Linked DNA regions of Homo sapiens: regions 2, 3 and 4 are each linked to region 1. The links are contacts of gene promoters, found by promoter capture Hi-C in human tissues and cell types (Jung and others, 2019). All regions are on one chromosome and are shown on one strand. The core of a region is centred on a gene start or on the middle of the fragment in contact, and the rest is flanking DNA. Distances in the headings are between cores, read along the strand shown.

Region 1 (2,645 bases), core at 90-2,589:
TCTTCTATGGCTATATCTATATATATCCATATAGATATAAACATATAAATTCACAGCAAAAGATCTAGAAAGATATATAGTGTTTTAGTCCATTTTCTGTTGCTTATAACAGAATACCTGAAACTGGGTAATTTGTAAAGAAAAGGAAGTTATTTCTTACAGTTATGGAGTCTGAGAAGTCCAAGGTCAAGAGTGTGCATCTGGTGAGGGCCTTCTTGCTGGTGGGGGACACCTGCAGAGTTCCCAGGCAGTACAAGCCATCATATGGAGGGGGTGCTGAGCTGCTCCCTTGCTAGCTAAGGTCTCTCTCCCTCTTCTTATAAAGCCATCAGTCCCCCTCCCAAGATAACCCATTAATCCATTAACCCATTAATCCATGAATCCATGAAGAGATTAATCCATTCATAAGGGCTCCACCCTCATGATCTAATCACCTCTTAAAGGGCCCACCACACAATACTGCCACATTGGGGATTAAATTTCCAACACATGAAATTTGGGGGACACATTCAAACCATAGTTCATATTAAACAGATAATAATGGTTAGTTACCTCGGCGGAGGGGCCTAGGATGCGAGTCAAGGTCAAAGAGCATTTGTACCTTATCTGCAAAGTTTAAATATTTTGCAATAATTCGCGTGTTATTTGTGTAAGTAAAAATTTAAACATAATTTTTCAGAGACAACTGCCCAGACCAGCTCCAGGGTTTGGCCGTCAGATCCCCTGGTGCATGTTTCTGATCAGATCAATTTCTTCTCCCGGAGACACCCAATCCGGGTCGTATGGATTACCTGTGGGTTAACCAGGGGTCTCCGGGTTAACCATCCAACTCAGAGTAAAGTTTCTAAAAATGCGTTTTGCTCTAATACCTATTCGGAACCAACCTGGGTCTAAAGACTGGAGCAAGTGTTTATTTTCCAAAACACGGCTTTTTAAAATAATTCTATAGGGATCACCTTGAACACACGTTAAGCAAAAAAAAAACCTCAGCGAAAACGCCTCGCAATGTCCAGATTAAATGCAAAAGCAAAAGCATTAAGTAGCTTTCTGGCATAAACATATTGCAGCTGGGTAGCGTGGCCGAGCGGTCTAAGGCGCTGGATTAAGGCTCCAGTCTCTTCGGGGGCGTGGGTTCGAATCCCACCGCTGCCAGGGTTGCTGTCTTTTTGTCCCCGCTGCATACACTCCTGGCTCAGTTTTGCGCGTGCCATCAGCGCCCCCTGCTGCAGGGCGGGGCTCACGGCCTGCATGAATGGCGCGGCGGAGGGGGCGGAGCCGCGTGCACCGGGGCGGGGCATTGTGGGTAAGAGGAAACGCTGGGGCCGGCCCGCTCCCCCCCACGTGTCCGCCGGAGTTTCTCCACCAGCAACATGGCCGCCGCCTGAGAGGAGAGCCGGGCCGCCGCCGTCTCTGCAGCCCGCGGGTAACTGGGCCGTTGCCGCCGTCCGCGCTCGGCCCCCGCGGAGAGGTGAGTCCCGTCTTGGCAGTGCCCGAGCTGGGGCTTGAGCCGGACCGCACTCACGACGTGGGCCTGGGCTAGATTCCCGAGTAGGCCAAGGAGGCCCGCGCCGCGCTGTGCCTAGCAGCTGGAGGCCTCTCGGGACTCGGGCGGGGAGGAGGGGCAGCCGGCTCCAGGCCGACCCCGGACTCTGACTTCCTTGACCTGACACCTGGGAGTTGGGGAGGCCGCGGCCGACGCTGGCGGCGGTGACTCAGGGTCCAGCCGACCTGCCCTATCCGGGCCTGGGAGGCCTCCTACGGAAGAAACACCTGTCCGCGCGTCGGGTGTAGTGGCGGCTCGCGGCAGGGACTGCGTGGTGGGCGTGAGAAGGGGGGCCTGACCACCCGCGAGGGAGCAGAAACCCATTGGACAGCGAGGCTCGGGATCGGCGGCCCGCCCCGATGGGCAGGGAGGGCACCTGCGCCTGCCGGAGCCCCCACTTCGCAGCTGAACCGGATTAGCCTCTGCCCGGCGAGGCCAGGGATTCCTCATTCATTTATTCAGGCAACCATTCAGTGTTTACCGAGCCAACTCTGTGTTCCGGATACAGCCCTGACCATTCGGTCCGAGGAGGTGTCAGTAAACAAACAAGGTCGTTCCTTTGGGTTAGCTTTAGAATTCCTTGGGCTTGGAGGCGGAAAGAAGAGATCTTAGCGATCTCCACAGTTTCCTCATCTGTGAAATAGAGATAATAGAAATTCCTACCTCATAGGGTTGTGGTGACGGCTCAGTAGAAACCGGGTGACGCTCCTGCTTGCAGCGTTTGACTTGTGGCTTAGCGTCATTACCCGCTTACGTTGGCAGAAAACATGTTGTCAAGTAATAACAAACCTTCCCAGAGGTTACGTTTATTAGCGTCCTGTCCTTACTCCTTCCCCGCAGGGGTCTGGAGGTCGGTACTTAGTTTCCCTACTTTAGGGATGAAAATAGGGAGGAATACCAAACCCAGACAACTCAGGTGGGTCACAGATGCCAAGCAGCTGTGGTGGGATTTGAACCTGCACAGTTTTGTTCTCGGGTCCAAGCTCTTACCCACTTAACCATACTGCCGTTTATCAGAAAACCGTGCAGTATAGTGGTTAAGAATAAGAATAAGGATCTTTGACATAGCGAGACCCAAGTTTCTGTCCTCATTCCACCTTGG
Region 2 (2,645 bases), core at 52-2,551, 1.4 Mb before region 1:
TCATTCATTCATCTTCCCAAAGCTAAACTCAAGTCTCCTGCTCCCTGCCCTGTTTCCCGCTCTGCAATAGCGATTAAGCTGCGGATTCTTTCTCCTTCCAGAGGAGGAGGCTTCCTGTTTCCCTTCTGATTCTCTATGGGTTGTTTGTTTGGGGTATATTTTTAGAGATTGCCAAGGGAGACTTCTGGAGCCAAGGATTCTGAACCTGAGTAATTCTACCACCAGAGATCAAAATTCTATTATTAAAAAACAAAAATTATGTATGTATTTTTAACATCTATACAACCCTTTCAGCTTACAGCATGGTCTCGCATTGATCGTCTTCTCAGGGACTGTAGTATCTGCTGAAGAGGTGAGGCCTCTGAGGTCTGGAGGGTAACCTTCCTGGGGTGGGGGGCATGCAAACTACAAATTGTATGGCTAGGCCTCACAGTCAGTTCTTATTCACAACCCCGTGCTCTACAAACCACATTCTACAGGGACATATGACCAGAACAATATGCACAGCTACTGCTTAGTAACTGAGGCCAACTGACCTTATTATACACAGGCCTGGCTGAGGGCGGGCAACATGCTAAGTACCAGAAAGGGCAAGTGGCTTCATGGAGGGAGAGAGGCGTATCCCCTCCCCAGAGGCACTTACTATATTGGTACTCACAGTGCAAGTGGCTTCATGGAGGGAGAGAGGCGTATCCCCTCCCCAGAGGCACTTACCATATTGGTACTCACAGTGCAAGTGGCTTCATGGAGGGAGAGAGGCGTATCCCCTCCCCAGAGGCACTTACCATATTGGTACTCACAGTGCAAGTGGCTTCATGGAGGGAGAGAGGTGTATCCCCTCCCCAGAGGCACTTACTATATTGGTACTCACAGTGCCTGGCACATGCTGGGCATACAATAAATATCAAGTGAGTGAACTGACATGTAAAGGAGTAAAAGAAAAGAAAGGTCCAAGACAGCAGTGGGGCCGAGCAGCAACTTGGCCACCTGGCTCACCCTGGCTTATTTCTCATTTAAGGCAAAGATGAGCAGTGCCCAGTTACTCAGAAGCTGCCAAATAATGCTATGATAGGCCTGAAATTTGACCTATGAATTAGGCAAAGGCGTTATTCTGCAAAAAAAAAAAGAAAAAGAAAAAGAAAAAAAAAACCATAGCGTACACATTAGAACCAGACATGAATCTCTATCAAAATCCAAGTGCCTGGGCCTTCCCTGCTGAGATTCCTATTCAGTAGGTCTGCTGCAGAGCCAGAGAGATATATTTTAAACCCTTAGAGTCCAGAGGGGCTTCTCAGCATCATAACCACAACTTGGCTCAAAAGATTCAAGCTTTAGAGAACCTGATCAGAAAAATAAAAACTTACCCAAAACCCTATGAAGCCAACCCAGTCCTATCCTAGCTGGGCACCACTGCCCAATGCTGTTCCCTTTCCTCCACTGCTCACCTGGTGACATAAAGTGTTTGTGACTAACCTGGTGAATTTGCACATGGTTGCAGCCTGGAACTTCCAAGCCAAGAGCAGCACTCGAAATTCTGTGGGGTCAACACACAGGTCATTGCAAAAGCGCTCCATGCCTTCCTCCAAAATTGCATCTTCCCGCTCATCCTTGTAGCGCCTGAACAGTTCTTCCAATCTTTGCAAGGAAGACTCCTCGGCATTGGACTTGGACTCCCTCCCAGCATCTCCCGAGGACGTTGGCAGCTGGCAGGCCTCAGTGGCAGCCTCGGCCTTCTTGGTCCCGTTGACGAGGATATCTCCACCTGGCTTGCCACAGGGTGGTACCTGCTCCTCACGGTGGCCTGCACCCCTCCTGCTATGTGACTTGTTGCTGGGCTCACGGTCTCCATTTTTGCTGCCCAGGGTCGATGAGGGATTCTTACACTTGGTGACACACTGGCCCATGGTGCTGGTGGCCTGGCCTCTAGAGTGGACCCCTCTGGATTGGATGCCCTCGCTGCCGCTGGCCCATGTACCTCAACATGCCATCAGCCAGAGGAGCCAGCCAACCTGGAAGGAAATTAGAAAGCCATCACCTCTGGGTGGGGGAAATGGGGTATGGACCCTACCTTCTAGGGTGCACACTGGTTCACCGCTCTATTTCCATGAGCCAACAACGAACCATGGGAGAGACCCTGAGTTCATCATCCCCTTCACAGGCCAGCTCCGTAACTTCACCTTGGCGACGCAGAGGCTGGGGCACATATGGAGAACCAATGAGGGAAATTCCTAAAATTCTTAAGGTAACATAGATTTCAAAGAGGCCGATTCATATGTAGAATGCATCAAAGACTGACAGAAATATTCCAGAGGAAATCTGTCTTGCCAACTTGCCATCACATAAGAAAAGTTATTTGGACCTGGGTTAAGCCAGAAGGCACAAAGGAAGGGTTCATCTTCTAATTCCTAATGCCAACATTCTCAGATTTTCTTTTTAAGTAGGATGAGTAGGGAGAAGGGGTGGCCATATTCAGAACAATAGTCTCATAATGCCCTAATGATGAGGTTGTCAAGACTACAAGCAGGGGCCTAAGCCAAGCAGCAAAATGAAATTTGCCTCTGATCTCTCCAGATTCCTTTCTGGGCCTATCCCACACAGTAGGTGAAATGCCCTTGCTTTGCCCTACTCCATCCACCTATAGAAAC
Region 3 (2,645 bases), core at 106-2,605, 1.2 Mb before region 1:
TGCTGATTTTTTTGGTTCAGTTGATAAAATTCTTCTAAATGATTTCAGTTCACTTTGGTGCTGCTGTTGCTGGCATAATCTTCCTCAGGGAACCATGAAAAGCAAGTGGTAAAAAGCCTTTCTTCTCAGTGAAGCTATAGGCTCAACAATTTGCCGTCTTTGCTACGAGATCAATTTAAACTCAGGTACATGTGATTATCTATTATCTTCTGAACTTCTTTATGAAGTTTCTGGCTATTCATCCAGCTCTAAGACTGACTTCCTCACTAGTTTCTATGTTAATTTATTTTTTTAGCTCATAAACACGCTTGTACTTAAAGCAATACCTTAATTTGTTGAGCAATTACTGTGTGCCAAGCAGCAGTCTAAGCACTTTCTTTAGCTAACAACTCCAGGAGGTAGGTATTGTTATGATGATTCCCATTTGCATGTAGAACACAGGGTCAGACTAGGCGGTGGCTCATGCCTGTAATCGCAACACTTTGGGAGGCTGAGGAAGGAGGAATTCTTAAAGCCAGGAGTTCAAGCCCAGCCTAAGCAACCTAGAGAGACCCTGTTTCTACAAAAAATGTAAAAATTAGTCAGACATGGTGGCATGCACCTATAGTCCCAGCTACTTGGGAGGCTGAGGAGAGAGCCCAGGAGTTTGAGGCTGCAGTGAACTCTAATCATGCCACTGCACCACACCCTGGGTGACAGAGCAAAAGCTTGTCTAAAACAAGAAAGCAAGCAAGAAAGCAAGAAAGAAACAGGGTCACAGAGGAAGGAAGGAAGGAAGGAAGGAAGGACAAACAGGGTCAAAGAGAAAGAAAGAAGAAAAGAAAGGAAGAAAGAAAGAAGGAAAGAAAGGAAGGAAGGAAGGAAGGAAGAAAGAAAAGAAAGAGAGATGAGAGAGAAGGAAGGAAGGAAGGAAGGAAGGAAAGAAAGAAAAAGAAAGGAAGGAAGGAAAGAAAGAAAGGCCGGACGTGGTGGCTCTTGCCTGTAATCCCAGCACTTTGGGAGGCTGAGGCAGGTGGATCACCTGAGGTCGGGAGTTCGAGACCAGCCTGACCAACATGGAGAAACCCTGTCTCTACTAAAAATACAAAAAAAAATTAGCCAGGCATGGTGGCACATGCCTGTAATCCCAGCTACTAGGGAGGCTGAGGCAGGAGAAATGTTTGAACCTGGGAGGCAGAGGTTGCGGTGAGCCAAGATCGCGCCATTGCACTCCAGCCTGGGCAACAAGAGTGAAACTCCATCTCAAAAAAAAAAAAAAAAAAAGGGGGAGAGAAAGAAAGGAAGAGAGAAAGAAAGAAAAGAAAACAGTCACAGAGGGATTAATTTCTCTCAAATTATACTATTAATTAGTAACAGAACAAGAACCAGAATTCAGATCCCATTCTATAAGTTATTACTTTATATGGTTCCACTTAGTTAGAAAATTACTTCTTTTTTCTCAATGTCCTGACTGCTGACTGGTACTTCCAATGCTTTAGAAAATTGAATTCAGTTCAAAGAAAAGAATACAGCTATTTCTTTTCACTGATGGGCTCTGTCCTACGTTGACTTCACCCCCTCAATTCCTTTTTAAAATACAAGCAAAACTAAGGATTTGAAAAACAAGTAGGTTCTCCAAGCCACAGGGCTCCCTTAAGACTGAACACGTTCAAAGCTAGAGATCCTCCCAAAGCAAAATACATGAGCTACTAATAAGTTCGGCCAATCAAAGTTAAGTAAGCATATCTGCCTCTAATTTTTCTAATACAAAACTCAGATGGGGGCAGCTCATCATTTCATTAGCCTGGCCTTTCAGTGAACTCCGGTGTCTTCATCCTCTCACCAGGATGTGTACCTTCTTGAAGGGCTCACTAAAAAAACCAGAGTCTTCCACCTCCAGGCTCACTGCAATTGATGCATAGATAAAACAAATGTCGGATAGCCATCCAATGGATTAGTATGCCGCCATAAAAAGGAAGCACTCACTACTGATACAAGCTTCAGTGTGGATGAAGACTGACAATATTGTTCATTGAAAGACACCAGACACAAAAGATCATATATTGCATGATTCCATTTCTATAAAATGTCCAGAATATGCAAATCCATAGAGACAGAAAATCACTTAGTGGTTGGGAGGAAATGGGGGAAGGTGAGAATGCGGAGTGACTGCTAATGGGTTTCTTTTTGGGGTAATGATAATACTCTTGAATTAGACAGTGGTAAGGATTAAACAAACTTGTGAATATATTAAAAACTTGCATTGTGTACTTTCAAAGGGTGAATTTTATGGAATGTGGATATCTCACTTTTTTTTAAAATGAAAGAATGAAAAAAGGTGGCTTCTGTCTCATCTGGACTCCTACAATTTTTTTTTTTTTGAGACGGAGTTTCGCAAATTTAATTATTGATAAATATACCTGAGAGATCACTGCTTGCCAGCCCTGTACTGGCACTGAGTTACATAAAGGAATAAGACCGTCCGGGCGTGGTGGCTTACACCTGTAATCCCAGAACTTTGGGGTGCCGATGTGGGTGGATTGCTTGAGCTTAGGAGTTTGAGACCAGTCTGGACAACATGGTGAAACTCCGTCTCTATCAAAAAATACAAAAAATTAGCTGGGTGTGGTGGTGTGGGTCTGTGGTCCCAACTACTCAGCTAACTT
Region 4 (2,645 bases), core at 99-2,598, 1.1 Mb before region 1:
CCTCAGCTGTAAAGTAGGAGGCAGATGGTATGTACCTTACATCAATGCACCTTTATGCCGAAGAGGTCTTCTCAAGAGTGTGTTTGGCAGGAGAGCCATGACTGGGTCTTTCCTCCTTTCACAAGGCTTGACCTTGGGTGGGGACCTCAGACTTGCCACCTCTCCACAGCTGCCTAAGATAGCTGCCTGGGTGACTCATGTCTTGGGAGAAGTCTTGTTGTAGTGACTTTTTTTTTTTTTTTGAGACGGAGTTTCGCTCTTGTTATTCTTATTATCATTTTTGAGATGGAGTCTTGCTCTGTCTCCCAGGCTGGCGTGCAATGGTGTGACCTTGGCTCACTGCAACCTCTGCCTCCCAGGCTGGAGTGCAATGGTGCAACCTTGGCTCACTGCAACCTCTGTCTCCCAGGTTCAAGCAATTCTCCTGCCTCAGCCTCCCCAGTAGCTAGGATTACAGGCACACACCACCGTGCCTGGCTAATTTTGTATTTTTAGTAGAGACGGGGGTTTCATCATGTTGGTCAGGCTGGTCTCAAGCTCCCAACCTCAGGTGATCCGCTCGCCTTGGCCTCCCAAAGTGTTGGGATTACAGACATGAGCCACTGCACCCGGCCTGTAGTGACTTGTTAATGCATAAGCCTTCTGGCTTTACGACTTCTGCCTTGTAATTCCCACAGCTTGGGCAGATTCATTCAACCTGGGGTTCCGATGTGTTACTTATCCCTGGCTCTTTGTCCTTTGCCTACAGGTGGTGGCCTTTATGAAGTCTCCAGTGGGTCAGTACTTGGACAGCCATCCGTTTCTGGCCTTCACCTTGCTGGTGTTCATTGTCATGTCGGCCGTTCCTGTTGGATTCTTCCTGCTCATCGTGGTGCTTACCACCCTGGCTGCTCTGCTGGGGGTCATAATATTGGAAGGTAGCCTGTTCCGTCATTCACCCCTTTAGAAAATAATTCAATTGGGAGAAAAATACTTTTGGGGCCATTTAAAAATTTTTTTAAGGGGCGGGGTCTTGTTATGTTGCCCAGGCTGGTCTCAAACTCCTGGGCTCAAGTGATCCTCCCACGTCGGCCTGCCAAAGTGCTGGGATTATGGCCATGGGCTACCATGCCTGGTTGTCTGCCATTCTTGTCAAAATCACATCAAGCAAGGCAACTTATCAGAGTAGGTAAAACATAGACTCTGGAGCCTGCATTCAAATCCCACCTCCACCACTGTGATTTGGGGCAAGTGGTTTACCTCTCTGAGCCTTAAATTCTTAATATGTAAAATGCAGATATAATAATACAATCTCAAAAGGTTGTTGTGAAGATTGAAACTTATGGCTCCATAAAGTCCTTAGCACAATACACAATACATGTCACAGAGTAGCTTCTCAATGAATGCTAGCTATTATTATTAAGCAGAGAGGCCATTCATTCCACAGTGAGTTATTGGGCACCTACTGCATGCCAGATGCCTCGCTAGGTACTGGAGACCACCTTCATCCTTCCTCCTGAAGTTCCACTACCAACAGTCAACTTCTCCCTGTATTCCTAAGTTAAAATTACTGGGAAAGCAAATCTGATTTGCTCACTTTGACTTTTCAAATCAGATCACACACCCCAGGCAAGTGGCCAAAGAGATGGTGGCCAGTGGGTCAGGTGATCACTTCTGGTCCATTCCGTGGCTTCCCAGAGCTAAGAGCACCCAGGGCTGTTTATTTGCCCCAGGGACAAGGCAGTTTACACTTGAAGGAGAAAGTAGGCATGGTCAGTGGATGAGCCAAATACAGCCTGGCAGAGTGGTTTTTGAGTAAATGTTGATAGATAGATGGGTGAATGCATGAATGAATGGATGGAGGAATGAATGAGTACCATAAGAAAGGAAATTTATAGAGAAAGGAGAGAGCCATTACATTTTGGTGGTACCATGCAAAGCTTTACAGCAGACAAGACTTTAAGGATGCATAACAACTTTGCCTCAGGGTGGGCAAGGAAGGGCCTTTTGGACAGGGGAACAGCATGTGCAAAGCCTCTAGAATAGTGGTTCTTGAACCTGAGTGTATTTAAATCTTTTTTTTTTTTCTAGATGGAATCTTACTCTGTCGCCCAGCCTGGAATACAGTGGCATGATCTCAACTCACTGCAACCTCTGCCACCCAGGTTCAAGAAATTCTCCTGCCTCAGCCTCCCAAGTAGTTGGGATTACAGGCATGCCCCACCATGCCCGACTAATTTTTGTATTTTTGGTAGAGATAGGGTTTCGCCATGTTGGCCAGGATGGTCTTGAGCTCCCGACCTCAAGTGATCTGCCCACCTCGGCCTCCCAAAGTGCTGGGATTACAGGTGTGAGCCACTGCACCCAGCTCCAAGTGTGTATAAATCTTACTTTCTTTATCAAAATACAGACTTTGGATCTTTTGAGACCAGGAGTTCAAGACCACTCTGGGCAACATAGCGAGATTCCCTCCATCTCTTTAAAAAAAAAAAAAAAGAGGCCGGACACAGTGGCTCATGCCTGTAATCCCAACACTGGGAGGCTGAGGAGGGCAGATCACTGGAGGTCAGGAGTTCGCGACCAGCCTGGCCAACATGGTGAAACCCCATCTCTACTAAAAATACAAAAAATTAGCCGGGCATGGTGGTGGGCACCTGTATCCCAGC

What was found. Contacts are between HindIII fragments. The study calls those that stand out against the background at their distance.
Region 2: a contact is called between a fragment that was not itself captured here and the fragment with the promoter of POLR3E in region 1, in 1 of the 25 tissues and cell types used here (dorsolateral prefrontal cortex).
Region 3: a fragment that was not itself captured here is called in contact with the fragment with the promoter of POLR3E in region 1 in 2 of the 25 tissues and cell types used here (dorsolateral prefrontal cortex and spleen).
Region 4: a fragment that was not itself captured here is called in contact with the fragment with the promoter of POLR3E in region 1 in 1 of the 25 tissues and cell types used here (dorsolateral prefrontal cortex).

The regions. Positions count from the first base shown.
Region 1 is chr16:22,296,070-22,298,714 of GRCh38, forward strand. POLR3E (RNA polymerase III subunit E) reads left to right here and starts at 1,340. Exons shown (of 21, transcript NM_018119.4): 1 at 1,340-1,468. TRL-AAG2-4 (tRNA-Leu (anticodon AAG) 2-4) reads left to right here and starts at 1,071; the gene lies at 1,071-1,152. RefSeq lists silencers at 961-1,410, 2,421-2,560 and enhancers at 1,084-1,628, 2,071-2,210. The HindIII fragment of the contact is 29,231 bases long and covers 1-2,645 here.
Region 2 is chr16:20,860,635-20,863,279 of GRCh38, forward strand. DCUN1D3 (defective in cullin neddylation 1 domain containing 3) reads right to left here. Exons shown (of 3, transcript NM_173475.4): 2 at 1,474-2,009. The coding sequence starts at 1,904. Among named protein-coding and RNA genes, the nearest start is that of DCUN1D3, 38 kb to the right of the region's middle. The HindIII fragment of the contact is 4,724 bases long and covers 1-2,645 here.
Region 3 is chr16:21,130,611-21,133,255 of GRCh38, forward strand. All of the region lies in intron 8 of DNAH3 (dynein axonemal heavy chain 3), which reads right to left. Among named protein-coding and RNA genes, the nearest start is that of DNAH3, 19 kb to the right of the region's middle. The HindIII fragment of the contact is 3,729 bases long and covers 1-2,645 here.
Region 4 is chr16:21,169,689-21,172,333 of GRCh38, forward strand. It overlaps LDAF1 (lipid droplet assembly factor 1), which reads left to right. Exons shown (of 5, transcript NM_001301771.2): 3 at 749-917. Among named protein-coding and RNA genes, the nearest start is that of LDAF1, 12 kb to the left of the region's middle. The HindIII fragment of the contact is 5,839 bases long and covers 1-2,645 here.